4 separate regions of the Homo sapiens genome follow, and all the other regions are linked to region 1. Evidence: promoter capture Hi-C in 16 types of primary human blood cells and fetal thymus (Javierre and others, 2016). All regions are on one chromosome and are shown on one strand. Each heading gives the region's core, a stretch centred on a gene start or on the middle of the fragment in contact. The rest is flanking DNA. Distances are from core to core; before and after follow the strand shown.

Region 1 (2,921 bases), core at 279-2,778:
AACACTTCTTGCTCTTCCTGATCTTCTCCTTCCCTGCCTCATCCTACCCCCACCCTCATCCTACCCCCACCCTCATCCCCGCCTTGTCCCCACATGATTAGCAGGGGCCCCCTCCACCCCCTTCCATCAGCAAATATACACCTCACTCCCATCTCCCTCCTTATCTTCCTGCAAGAAAGGGTTGGGAGACAAAGAGGGGGCCAGCAGTGTGGGGCCCTGGGTTAGGAGAGATGTCCAGTATCTGCCCTCCCCAGCCCCAGCAGGATGCTGCAGCCTCGGTAAAATGCCTCCCCCACCATTTTCTTTCCATGAGCTGCTCTTTCTCTCTCCCCTCCTGGCTGTCGCCTTATCTCCTCCTCTCCCCTTTTAAATGCAGATAATAGAATAAGGCAAACAGCTTATGTCCGCAAAATTCCTCTGAAATTGCCCCCTAACATGCATACCCAGAGCTGGCCTTGATTGACATCAAGTGCAGTAATTAAAAACCCTGCCAGCTGACATAGGTGAAGGTTTATTTATAATTACACATTTTTAGGATGGCTCGTCCAGGGTCGGTGCATTTAAAAAGATAAGTCGGCCACAGCTCTGTTACTCCCCCAATTATAGATTTGAATGGTGGGAGTTTATAATGGGGGCGGGGAATTCTGCTTTGCAAAAAAAGGAATTATTTGTTCATAAAACCAGGAGGCCAGGGTACGAAAGTCTGATGGCAGAGCCTTTGTCTAGAAAGCTGTGGGAGAGAGAGTGTGTGTCTGTGTGTGTACCTGTGTATGCCTGTGTGTGCATGGGTGTGTGCACCTGCATGTGTACCTGGGAGTGTGTGTGTCTATCTATGGGTGTGTGTGGGCCTGTATGTGTACATGTGTGGGTCTGTGTGTATGGATGCATGCACCTGTGTGTATACATGTGTGTGCCTGCATGCACATGTGGGTGTATGGAAGGGGAGTCATGCGGTGAAGCAGAAAACACCTCCCTCTCCCTGTGCTTAAACACAGAGCTATACTCACAAATCATTTCCCTGCTTGCTTTATCTAAAATGTTAAAAATCTTGCCCAGCTTCAAATCCAAGACTATCAGATCTGACATTCCTAAGAACCCACTGTGAAAGAGGATTCCTCCGTGGGAGCCCAGGGAGCTGGGACAGGAGCTTCTGGGAGGACTGTGTGGGCATAGAGTTCCTAGGAGGCGGAAGCTGCCTGCACACAGCAGGGTGTTTGACACCCATGGGGCAGTGCCCAAAAGCAGCAGCCAGCAGGTCCCCTCTCCCCAACATCCGCTTCTCATTGTTGCCTTTTTTTAGAGCTTGGTATCACTTACCCAGAGGGGCAGAGCCGGCCATATCAGACTGTGCATCTCACGTGTGTGGTTTCTTGGGCCCCACAGCTGGAGACAATGGCAGGAGCGGCCTTGGAGAGCCCCGATTGTCACCTGGCGTCTTGGCAGGCAGCTGAACCCAGAAGTAAACTGAGCCAGGCAGGGAGCTACAGGTGTTAAAGGTACCAGAAAGCAAGGCTCGAAAATCAGATATGAGAGAAAAGGGGAGCAACAGGAAGCCTTTGTATAGGGGGTGCCACTGCATTTCAGACATGCCTGGCCAGGGGGCACAGGGCACAGGGCTTGTCCAAGAAGACAGGATGCAAAACCCACTGCTGACCAGGGAGCCAAGAGCTGTGAAAGGGTCTAGGTGGGTCACCCAGAACAGTCCCTCTGCCCCAGAACGCTGCACAGAGAGATTGCCTGGAAGGAAGCAGGTCCTTCCGATTAAGTGGCAGAACCCTACTGAGAGAAATAAAAGTGAGGAATGGTGAATTCGGCACCACTTGCCAGACCAATGGGCTTCATCAATTAATCACAGCCAAATAATCACCACCTACATTAAAGAATAATACATGAAAAGGACAGGAGCCTCACTGTAACTTATTCAGAAAGGGCTGCCTCCCTAATCCCTCTGAGTCCTGACATGTTAACAGGGTAGCGACTAATTAGATGTCAAAAATTCATAAGCGCTCTTTAATATTGCATATATCTGCAGCCGACATTTCAATATGAGAGTTGTATACACAGAAGTCACTATAGCATTAAAACACAGTGGGGTGGAAGAAATAAAAGGGAACCAATAAAAACAATGTCCCTTAAAAACCCCAGAGAGTGCCAGCTTTGGAAGTGTGTACTTTCTTATTCAGAAAAGGTATCACCTTAATAAGAATTATAGGCAAAGGGGTTTCGCTGCTCTGTGCTGCATGGACAGAAAGGGGGTGAGGAGACGAGCTTATCAAAAGCACTGCCAGGTAAATAGTAATTTATTGTGCATGCACAATGAACATTACCCAGTGTCCTGACACTGGGTGATAATGAAAGGCATGTTATTGTGGAATCCACTGAGGGAATTTCCACTCCCCCCGCTCCCTTCTCCCCTTCTCCTCTTGTCTCTCTTGAGCAAAGAAGCCGTGATGGGTCCTGGCAGCTTCTGCCTGTTTCAAGCCATTTCACATAATATAGAAAGCACCTGAAGTTTAGTGGATTAAGTAAGTGAGTTAGTTTGCCAGCTTGGTGATATATATGTTGCTTGCATGTGAACTTATATTTCAAATGCTGGGGACTATATTTTTATGAAACAAGCCTTTTCCTGTCGGAAGAATTATAGGAATGTGATATAATACAAGGCAGTGAGATTAAAAACAATGCATCATAGCAGAGAGAAAATGCACTGTTTTATGACTTGCATCCGTTAATTGAACCTCTCAGGAATCAAGAGAAGGGCTCTGCAGGAACCTGCTGGAAAATCACTCTCTTTTTTTACTTCCATGTTCTGTTTTTTTGTTGTTGTAGTTGTTATTTTTATTTTTTATCATACATATAGATACATATATACATGCATATATATATACACACACATATTTATGGACACACACAGCCATGAA
Region 2 (2,921 bases), core at 229-2,728, 1.1 Mb before region 1:
CCTGAGTAGCTGGGATTACAGGCACCTACCATCATGCCTGGCTAATTTTTGTATTTTTGTAGAGATGGGGTTTCACCATGTTGGCCAGGCTGGTCTTGAACTCCTGACCTCAGGTGATCTGCCCGCCTTGGCCTCCCAAAGTGCTGGGATTACAGGCATGAGCCACTGCGCCCGGCAATATCTATTCTGTATACATTACGCGGTCTCAGGTATTTTGTTACAGCAGCGCTGAGACAAGATGCTTCATCAATATTAGTCGATTATGTACCAGTGAAATCTGGGGGAAATTTCCCATTTCATTCCTGAAATATTGACGTGTGTACCTTAGACTGAGTTGAATGTGAATCTCTTGTTTCATGAGTAAAACGCCTCCATAATAATATCTATCATTTATTCAATGCCTCCTCTGTGCCAGGCCTGTGCTGGGGGCTTTCTGAGAGGTCATCTGATGAGATGCTCACAGAGGCGTTGATAGAGGAGGACCTGGGATGTCGAGAAGAGAAACCGCATGAAGGCTTTTGCAGCTAGCAGCGGGCGCAGCGGAGACTTGACCCTGGCGATCTCGGAGGCGTATATCAAGCTGTGTGTGCCCTGTCCTGCTTTTCTCACAGGCTGCTGGGAGGACAAACTCAAGTCAGGGAAGCAAAAGGGCTTTGTACACTAAAACTCTGTCCCAACATGAGTTGTTTGTCTGTTTCAAATTTTACCAGCAGAAACGTCTGTCTTACCCCACTCTCTCCACCCCATTTCTCTCTGCCTCAATTATCTGGTTTCATAACCGTGGTGTGTCTTGTTGGATTTTGCTGTCTCAAACAAACAAACAAACAAACAAAATCTCTTCTACTAACTGAGTATACTGTGTCCTTAATGCAAACTTTGTTTCTCTGTAATTCTCTTCCTTCCTCCATGTCTCGATCCAGCACTGACTTTGTCTTTGCTGTTCTGGTTCCACATCTGGTGATGTTTTCAGCTGCCTGTTATTGGCTTGCAGGATGGCTGGAAATCCAACCTGGGTATAGGACGGCATAGTGGTTATACACAGAGACAGACCTGGGGTGATTTGGGCTCTACCTCGTGGTGGCTGACTTCGGGTTTCCTGTCTAAGGGGGATGAAAGTCTTTCTCTTCTGAGGATTAGATAAGATAAATGCCTCACAATGTAATTAGACAGAGTGTCTCTTTGAATGAGTAGGTCTTGAGGGTCTTGGAAGAATTCTGCAATCTGTGCTCAGGACCCCTGAGCCCTGCTGCTTTGCTCCCATGGCACTTGGGACACATGGCCATGAGTCCATGTGATGGGCTGTACTCTCACTACTATAATTGCTGAACTATGTCATCAACTTTTGTTTTCCCTTGCTCTGTTCTTTGGAGCTGGGGTGGTGTGTCAGATTCAGGCTTGCCTGAACTTGGAACCTCAGTACCACCACCTCACAATATTGCCATCTTTGGGCCCTGTCCCCCATGGTGTGCTTGGCATACAGCAGGCGTCCCATCCGCGTGTGTTGTTGAAGGAACAAATCACAGCCATGCTTATGATGCGACTGCTGCATGGCGAGAGACCGGGCCAGGCGCTTTGCTAAGACCCACTCATCACCGCTTATACAGAGCGGTGAAGCCCATCTGACAGGGAGACCACAGAGCCTGAGAAATGAATGCCCTTTCCCCAGCCGACTCAGCCAAAGCCTGAGCTTCCAGATGGGCACCCTGGCAGCATGTAGCAGGCCAGGGTTTGCAGGGCAGGGGAGCCATTCTACTTCAAGGCAGCAGGCAGCCCTCATGGCTGGTGGGGAGGCTACTGACAGTCACTAGCTGTGACTACTAGCAGGCAGGTTTTAGGGAATGACGCCTCGATTTTTCACTTTGAGGAAACCCTTGATGTGCACCGTGGCAGTGGCAGAGGCTAATCGCGTGGATCTGGGAGCTAATGCAGCTGCTGTAATTCCTGTCACCTTCTCACAGCTCAGTGGGAGCTTCCGATGAATAAATCGTGGCATTCAGGGGCTGCATACATCAGTGGCAGGTGTCACCGTCATAGGTCGGGCAGGGCACTGGTGCTCCACCTTGCCTTGTCTTTAATTAAAGGAGGAAATATGTCAGAACTGACAGGACCACTGACCAGCCTACCAGGTCCTTTCCAGTCGCAGTGAAATCAACCGTTAAAGATGCTCATCTCAAGAGGAGAACGAGTCTCTTATGCTTCTGGGGAGAAATCACCATCTGGCGAGGGTTTCCTGGCCTTTGGGGGTCCCCCTGCTACCTCCTCTGAGCCATCTGGGGCTCCCCTGCATTTGCCCCTTACTTGGGAACTGTAACCCTTAGGGATCAGAGGGAGCATGGGAACAAAACAATTCAATAAAGTCACAATAAAGCATCCAAAGCCCTTCATACTTTTTCACTTTCTTTAACTCAATTTATTTTTCATTTTGTGGACAGAGATTTAGTCTGGGTATTAGTTTATGATTTTTACTGAAGGAATTACTCAACACACACACATATAAAAAGGAAATATTATTTTTATCATTTATTTTGTGCCATGTATACCATAGGAGAAAAAAACGGAGCGAAATCACTTCAGTACCGCTGTGTTTTTCATTACAAAGTTATTACATATAGAAATTACTCCAAATTATCTGAAATGAATGGAAATTATGAGGTTTAAATTCCCCAGGTTACTGCAGGCACAGCTCTGGAAATTTATTTTGTCATCTTGCTGAACATAATTGCTACAACAAAATTTCTTCCATTTTACAACTGCAGCATAACTTATTTATACCGGTGTAGCTGTAATTTTACATCAATAAGTTGCATGGGAAGGAATACACAGGTGGTAATTGAAAACAATAATTTGTACTGAGGTCCAGGTGGAACGGTTGGCTCAGAAAAAGGCTCCAGTTATTATCGGCAACAGCTTTGTGTCACTGC
Region 3 (2,921 bases), core at 122-2,621, 1.1 Mb before region 1:
ACAGCTAAGAACGTGGGTGGACAATAATCTGTTTGAATCCTTGCTTTCAGTTCTTTTGGAGTTTCTGCGGAAGTGGAGTTTCTGCGTCAAAGGGTAATCCTATATTTAATTTTTTGAGGAATTGCCAAACCGTTTTCTATAGTGGCTACGCTGTTTTACATTCTCACCAACAGTGCACAGAGGTTCTCATTTCTCCGCATCCTTATCTGACTGTTGGGTAATTTTAGTGTTTTTTGGACTGTTGGAGTTGATAGCCAAGGAACCTGCCTCTCAGGGATGTGGCAACAACTGGTCCAAGTTAGGTGGGTAATAAACCTGAGGGCGGTTTGAATCCAGCCTCAGCCAGCCTAGGTGTGGCCCTATAGTCACCACTGGACTGCTGGGGGCTACCACCTTCAGTATATTTTAGTTGAGGGTCTTGAATCCCCTTTGTCTTGGAAATGGTTGCCCATGGCAGTTCTCAGTTCTGTCTCCCAGGACAGCTTTTTTTTTTTTAATTTTTATTTTTTATCTTTATTTTTTATAACAAAGCTAAACATTTAGCTACCTTGATAGCTTGGGGAAGAAAATTCTACAAATGGACAATTTTCATTGTTCTTTCTGTTGTGTCTTCAGGGTGTTGATTTGAGTGTGACTTAGCAGAAGGAGCCCCGTATTTGGAATCAGAATCCCTAGGAGCGAGATAGAGCTCACTCGGTGTCCTGTGCACGCTTTGGCCCTCTCTGAGCCTTGTGGGGTCTCCCTGCCTGATGGGAATCATCACACTGGTTTTGCTTCCTTGGCTGGGCGGGGAGGGACTGGGGACAGGGAATCTCAAGGGAGTGGCCTTGGGTCCTTTGTATATCGGGATGGTAATTGCGATGATTCTTATTAGTGGTTGTGCTTTCTCTCTATTGTCCTGTATTGGTGTCCCAGGGCTGCCGTAGCAAATGGGCACAGACTGGGTAGCCTAAGACAATAAGAAATTGATTCTGTGGTCGGGTGCGGTGGCTCACGCCTGTAATCCCAGCACTTTGGGAGGCTGAGGTGGGTGGATCTCTTGAGCCCAGCAGTTCAAGACCAGCCTGGGCAACATGGCGAAACCCATTCTCTAAAAAAATTAGCCAAGAATGGTGGCATACACCTGTAATCCCAGCTACTGGGGAGGTGGAGGCAGGAGGAGCCCTTGAGCCCAGGGAGGTTGAGGCTGCCATGAGCCGAGATCGTGCCACTGCACTCCAGCCTTGGGCAACACAGTGAGACCCTGTCTCAAAAAAAAAAAAAGAAGAAATAAAAAAAAGAAAAGAAATGTATTTTCTCACAGTTTGGGAGGCCACAGGTCCAAGATGGAGGGGTCGGCAGGGCCGTGCTCCCTGATTCCCTGCCTCTGTGGGCACACAGCTTTCTCCTCTGGGTTTGACTTCTCTTCTGAACAATTAAAATAAAAAAGACAATTGTCTTTGGATTCAGGACCCACCTAGACCATCCAGAATGATCTCATCAACAGCCTTCACTTAGTCACACCTGCAGTGACCTTGCCCCTAAATAAGCTCACATTTACAGGTCCTGGGATCTAGCTGTGGACAGCTTATTTCAGGTGGCTCCATCCAATCTTCTCTGCATGCCTCTTGCTGGATTCTAGGCCCTTCCAGGGCAGGAAACCCAGCTGGTCTCGGTGAACTGAGGTCTGGGACAGGTTCAGGCACTTACAGGGGATTCCCCAAATGTCTCCTGCATTGAAGCTGGAGCTGGCTTTTGACAAGATGGACACATGTTCCTTTTTTTCTCAGGAATGTGGTGATTCTGAAATGCCTGGCCCTTCGGCTAGCACTCAGACTTCTGTGTTTATGGAAGGCAGTGTGGTCACATGTGGCCCCCAGCTCTGCCCCCATGCTGAGTCAGAACACAACTATTAACGATAGGGCGGGGAGATGGCTTAAAAAAATCTGTGGCCGGGCGCAGTGGCTCATGCCTGTAATCCCAGCACTTTGGGAGGCCGAGGCGGGCGGATCACGAGGTCAGGGGATCGAGACCATCCTGGCTAACATGGTGAAACCCTGTCTCTAGTAAAAATACAAAAAAAAAAAAAAAAAAAAATTAGCCAGGCATGGTGGCGGGTGCCTGTAGTCCCAGCTACTTGGGAGGCTGAGGCAGGAGAATGGCGTGAACCTGGGAGGCGGAGCTTGAAGTGAGCTGAGATCGCGCCACTGCACTCTAGCCTGGGCAACAGAGTGAGACTCTGTCTCAAAAAAAAAAAAAAAAAAAAAACCTGCAATGATTATTATGAGAATTAACAGAGTTGAATAGGAGCTAAAAATAACTGGACACACACTTGCCTATAATCCAGATTTTAAAAGAAAATATAATTATTTTTGTAAACTGGCTCTGAGAAGCCAGAAATATTTTTAGTTTGCATCTTTTAAGACATGGTGCATGTTTTCAGGGAGTGGAGTTCGGAGCCCACTGGCATGTGATGATGTCACCAAGTCAGAGCACACCTGAAGCCTGTGGGGACGGGGTGGTGGCAGGCGGCGGGGTCAGAGGTTAAGGAGCCCAGTTCTGAGCACCATTTGTCTGAGCATGCATTTGAGGAGAGGTGTTCCACCAGCCTACCGTGGCTTCTGTAGGTGCTGGAGCCTGGGGTGTCCTGGCTACCCCCAGTCTGGAAGCCAGTAGCATTGAGAGAACAGCAGCTGGCTCAGCTCAGAGGCCAGGGGGTGGGGGTTCCCCCTGGATAAGGTGGACCTGACAGGGTCTGAGCGGACCTGCAAGAAATAACCAAGACTTGAGGGAAAACATTCCACGGCTTTTTCATTTGGAGCCAAACATTGCCTCATGTAATTTTCTCCCTGGTTTTTCCCATTGCCTCTGCCAGGGTCCTTGGGCCTGGCACAGACCCGTAATAAAAGGCCGTGTGTGTGTGTGTGTGTGTGTGTGTGTGT
Region 4 (2,921 bases), core at 237-2,736, 1.0 Mb before region 1:
GTTGGAACAGCCCAGTTAAGCCCATAGAGATGCAGGATCCTAGAGCTGGCTGGGACCCTTAAAAGTCATTTATTATAAACCTATCTAAACTGTATTAGTTCGTTTTCACACTGCCGGTAAAACATACCCGAGACTGGGTACTTTATAAAGAAAAAGAGGTTTAATGAACTCACAGTTCCATGTGGCTTGGGAGGCCTCACAATCATGGTGGAAGGCAAAAGGCACGTCTTATATGGTGGCCGGCAAGAGAGAACTTGTGTAGGGGAACTCCCCTTTATAAAACCATCAGATCTCATGAGACTTATTCACTATCATAAGAACAGCATGGGGAAGACCCGCCCCCATGATTCAATTACCTCCTACTTGGTCCGTCCCATGACACATAGGAATTATGGGAGCTACAATTCAAGATGAGATTTGGGTAGGGACACAGCCAAACCATATCAGAAACAGTCTCCCAAACACTAGCGTGTAGTACATCCATCCATTTGTCCATACAGCCACTTATTCATCCAGCCAGCCACAAGCTTGTTTGTGTAATAAACATTTCTGCAGTATCACAGACCCTGCTGGGAAGATAGGGGTCAGTACGACTCCCCCCTGCCTTCCCAGAGTTTGCCCTTCAGTGGGCAGGATGGGACATCCATCTATCTATCTGCTTAGTTGTTTATTCCCTTAACTCTCCTGGAGTTCCTACTGCATGCCTCACCCTCCTAGGCCAGGGGGTGCAGTACCTGCCCTGGAAGAACTCCTGATTAGCTGGGGAGGCAGTGAACAGACAATCAGGGCTCAGTCTGCTGGACAGGAGCATAGGGTCTACCAGGAGGCTGGAGGAAATGTTCATGCCCTTCATTACAGACAAGGAAAACCAGCACTTGCTCCACTGTGCCAGGCCACAGCCCAAACTGTCACCCTTTACTGTGGCTTATTTCTCATAGACCATAACGAAAATGAAATTGTGTTTCTGTGATCTTTTATAATTAAAAATATTTAAAATAAGTAATGCCCAGTTTAGGATGCATCCCAAGATGTAAGCCCAGAGGTGCTGTCTAGAGGATGTGGGTGGTTCCCTACCTATCCAAATCTCAAAACAAGAAAGTGATGCTGATGCATTTGCTCATTGGCCAGGCCCCATAAGGGCTTTTTGTTTTTTTGACTGAAAATGCACTGCAGGCTGCCGTTTGCAAAGGCTAGGCTGGCCTCCCAGCAAAACTAGGAGCTACTGAGGATAGGGAGAGTGCCTCCTTCCTGCCTTCTCTTTTCCTAGTCCGACTTCTTTCCATCAGCAAGATCTTACTAAGCATCTGCTCCTTGTCCTATGGTGCAGCGGGGAAGCAATCGTGTAGAGCTGAGGGGTTGGTAAGCGAAAGAAAAAAATGAGGGGGCAGACCGCAGGTATCACCTCAGACCTCTGACTACCTTTGGCACTTGGCACAACCCAGCCCTCTTGCCTGCGTTTGGAGGTTTAATTGAGGGTTCAGCTTTGTTACCTGTATCATGTTTCAACCACTTTTCCCTCTTCCCTTTGCAAAGCTCTGGGGTGGTGTGTATCAAGGGCCCAGATGTTCTTCTGACTATTTGATCTGGTGACGTCATTTTTGGAAACCATACTAAGAATACTTATTTGCGATTCCTAGAGAGAGGAGGATGGCCATCTCAGCATTTCATTAAATACTCTGTTAATAATTTGCATCCTTCTTCATTCCTCAAGATTGTGAGCAGACCAATAGGAAATGTAATAAAGCATAAACAAGCAGCGAAATATCAGGATCAGAGAGATTAAAAGCTCTAGTAAGATGTCTACACCTATGCAAAAATATTGCCTAGAGAAGACGGCCATACGTTGCTATACTTAAATCATAAATTTGAGTCTAAGATTCTTTTTAGCCAAAGGGAAAAAAGAAACGTAGATACACTGCTTATTTTTCATGCAGACAAAATATGCCAGGGAATGACGTGCATGATAGCGAAATTTTGGAAGCTGCCTCCGTGTTCAACAGTAAAGGAGTGAATGAGTGAAGAAGAGCCTGTTCATTATGGAGTATTTACACACATCGAAAATGAGGGGGATGAAGACTTTGGTAGCAACAGGAAAACTGTGTATGAGATAATGTTAACTTTTAAAAGAAGAGAAAATGTTCGTAGGCTGTGAGTCTAAATGATCTAGCTGAAGGTTGTGTGGACATGGATGTGTATCAGATGCAGATGCTTGGGAGGAAAGGCTCTTCAGGAAGGTATTTCTCCTACCTTTTCCAAATTTTCAGGAAGTTAGTCTTGTTGTCTTCGCAACTGAAAATATTCAAATGAATGTGTGCTGGATGGACTCTCACAGATGTCTCGCCAGGATCTTCCATCCCCTGGAGCCATTTGCTTGGCTAATGGTGATTTTCTGACGCCCATGGAGGTCTGTATGCAATCACCCCTGGATGATGTGGAAAAGCTTTGCTCTCTGCATAACCAACACTAAGCACATCACGAGCCATCTTTTTTTTTTTTTATTAATCTCTAAAATAATTAAGGAAGCTCTAATACAGCCAAAGATTTAGCCCCAAAGATGTTCACTGTATCTATATTTACAATAGCAAAAACTGGAAATAAAGAAAATGCCCAGTAACAGGGGATTAGATAAGCAAGGGATAGGATGTCAATGCAATGGAACATCAGGCATTTATCAAAAATACTGTTGTCAGAATAACATACATGGTATTGGAGAGGTGTTCATGATGGACACATTACGGGGTTAGTTACCTACTTGTGGTCTCATGAAGATGCAATGAATCACACGAAAGTGTGGGAAGGAAATGCAGGGGAGGGATAATGGTGGCTGTTTGTGGGTTGCATTGTAGCAGGCCCCTTCAGGCTGCATGAGGAGGGACTGACTGTCATGGTGGGATGTAAAGTAGGGGTTGTCCACGGTAAGA

The links. Contacts are between HindIII fragments. The CHiCAGO score rates a contact against its expected background, and 5 or more counts as called.
Region 2: a fragment that was not itself captured here is called in contact with the fragment with the promoter of LINC02295 in region 1 in 8 of 17 cell types (M2 macrophages, M0 macrophages, M1 macrophages and 5 more); the score reaches 14.0 in M2 macrophages.
Region 3: a fragment that was not itself captured here is called in contact with the fragment with the promoter of LINC02295 in region 1 in 7 of 17 cell types (naive CD4 T cells, naive CD8 T cells, M1 macrophages and 4 more); the score reaches 8.6 in naive CD4 T cells.
Region 4: a contact is called between a fragment that was not itself captured here and the fragment with the promoter of LINC02295 in region 1, in 3 of 17 cell types (naive CD4 T cells, total CD4 T cells and naive CD8 T cells). The highest score is 6.8, in naive CD4 T cells.

What each region holds. Positions count from the first base shown.
Region 1 is chr14:98,134,594-98,137,514 of GRCh38, reverse strand. It overlaps LINC02295 (long intergenic non-protein coding RNA 2295), which reads right to left and starts at 1,528. Exons shown (of 3, transcript NR_184268.1): 1 at 1,318-1,528. The region is part of intron 1 of LOC105370655 (a long non-coding RNA gene); the gene reads left to right. The HindIII fragment of the contact is 6,410 bases long and covers 1-2,921 here.
Region 2 is chr14:99,279,232-99,282,152 of GRCh38, reverse strand. It overlaps LOC105370660 (a long non-coding RNA gene), which reads left to right. Exons shown (of 3, transcript XR_001750881.2): 3 at 416-2,142. Among named protein-coding and RNA genes, the nearest start is that of BCL11B, 8.5 kb to the right of the region's middle. The HindIII fragment of the contact is 8,266 bases long and covers 1-2,921 here.
Region 3 is chr14:99,217,388-99,220,308 of GRCh38, reverse strand. All of the region lies in intron 3 of BCL11B (BCL11 transcription factor B), which reads left to right. Among named protein-coding and RNA genes, the nearest start is that of BCL11B, 53 kb to the left of the region's middle. The HindIII fragment of the contact is 6,562 bases long and covers 1-2,921 here.
Region 4 is chr14:99,163,561-99,166,481 of GRCh38, reverse strand. No RefSeq gene overlaps it. Among named protein-coding and RNA genes, the nearest start is that of BCL11B, 110 kb to the left of the region's middle. The HindIII fragment of the contact is 1,913 bases long and covers 530-2,442 here.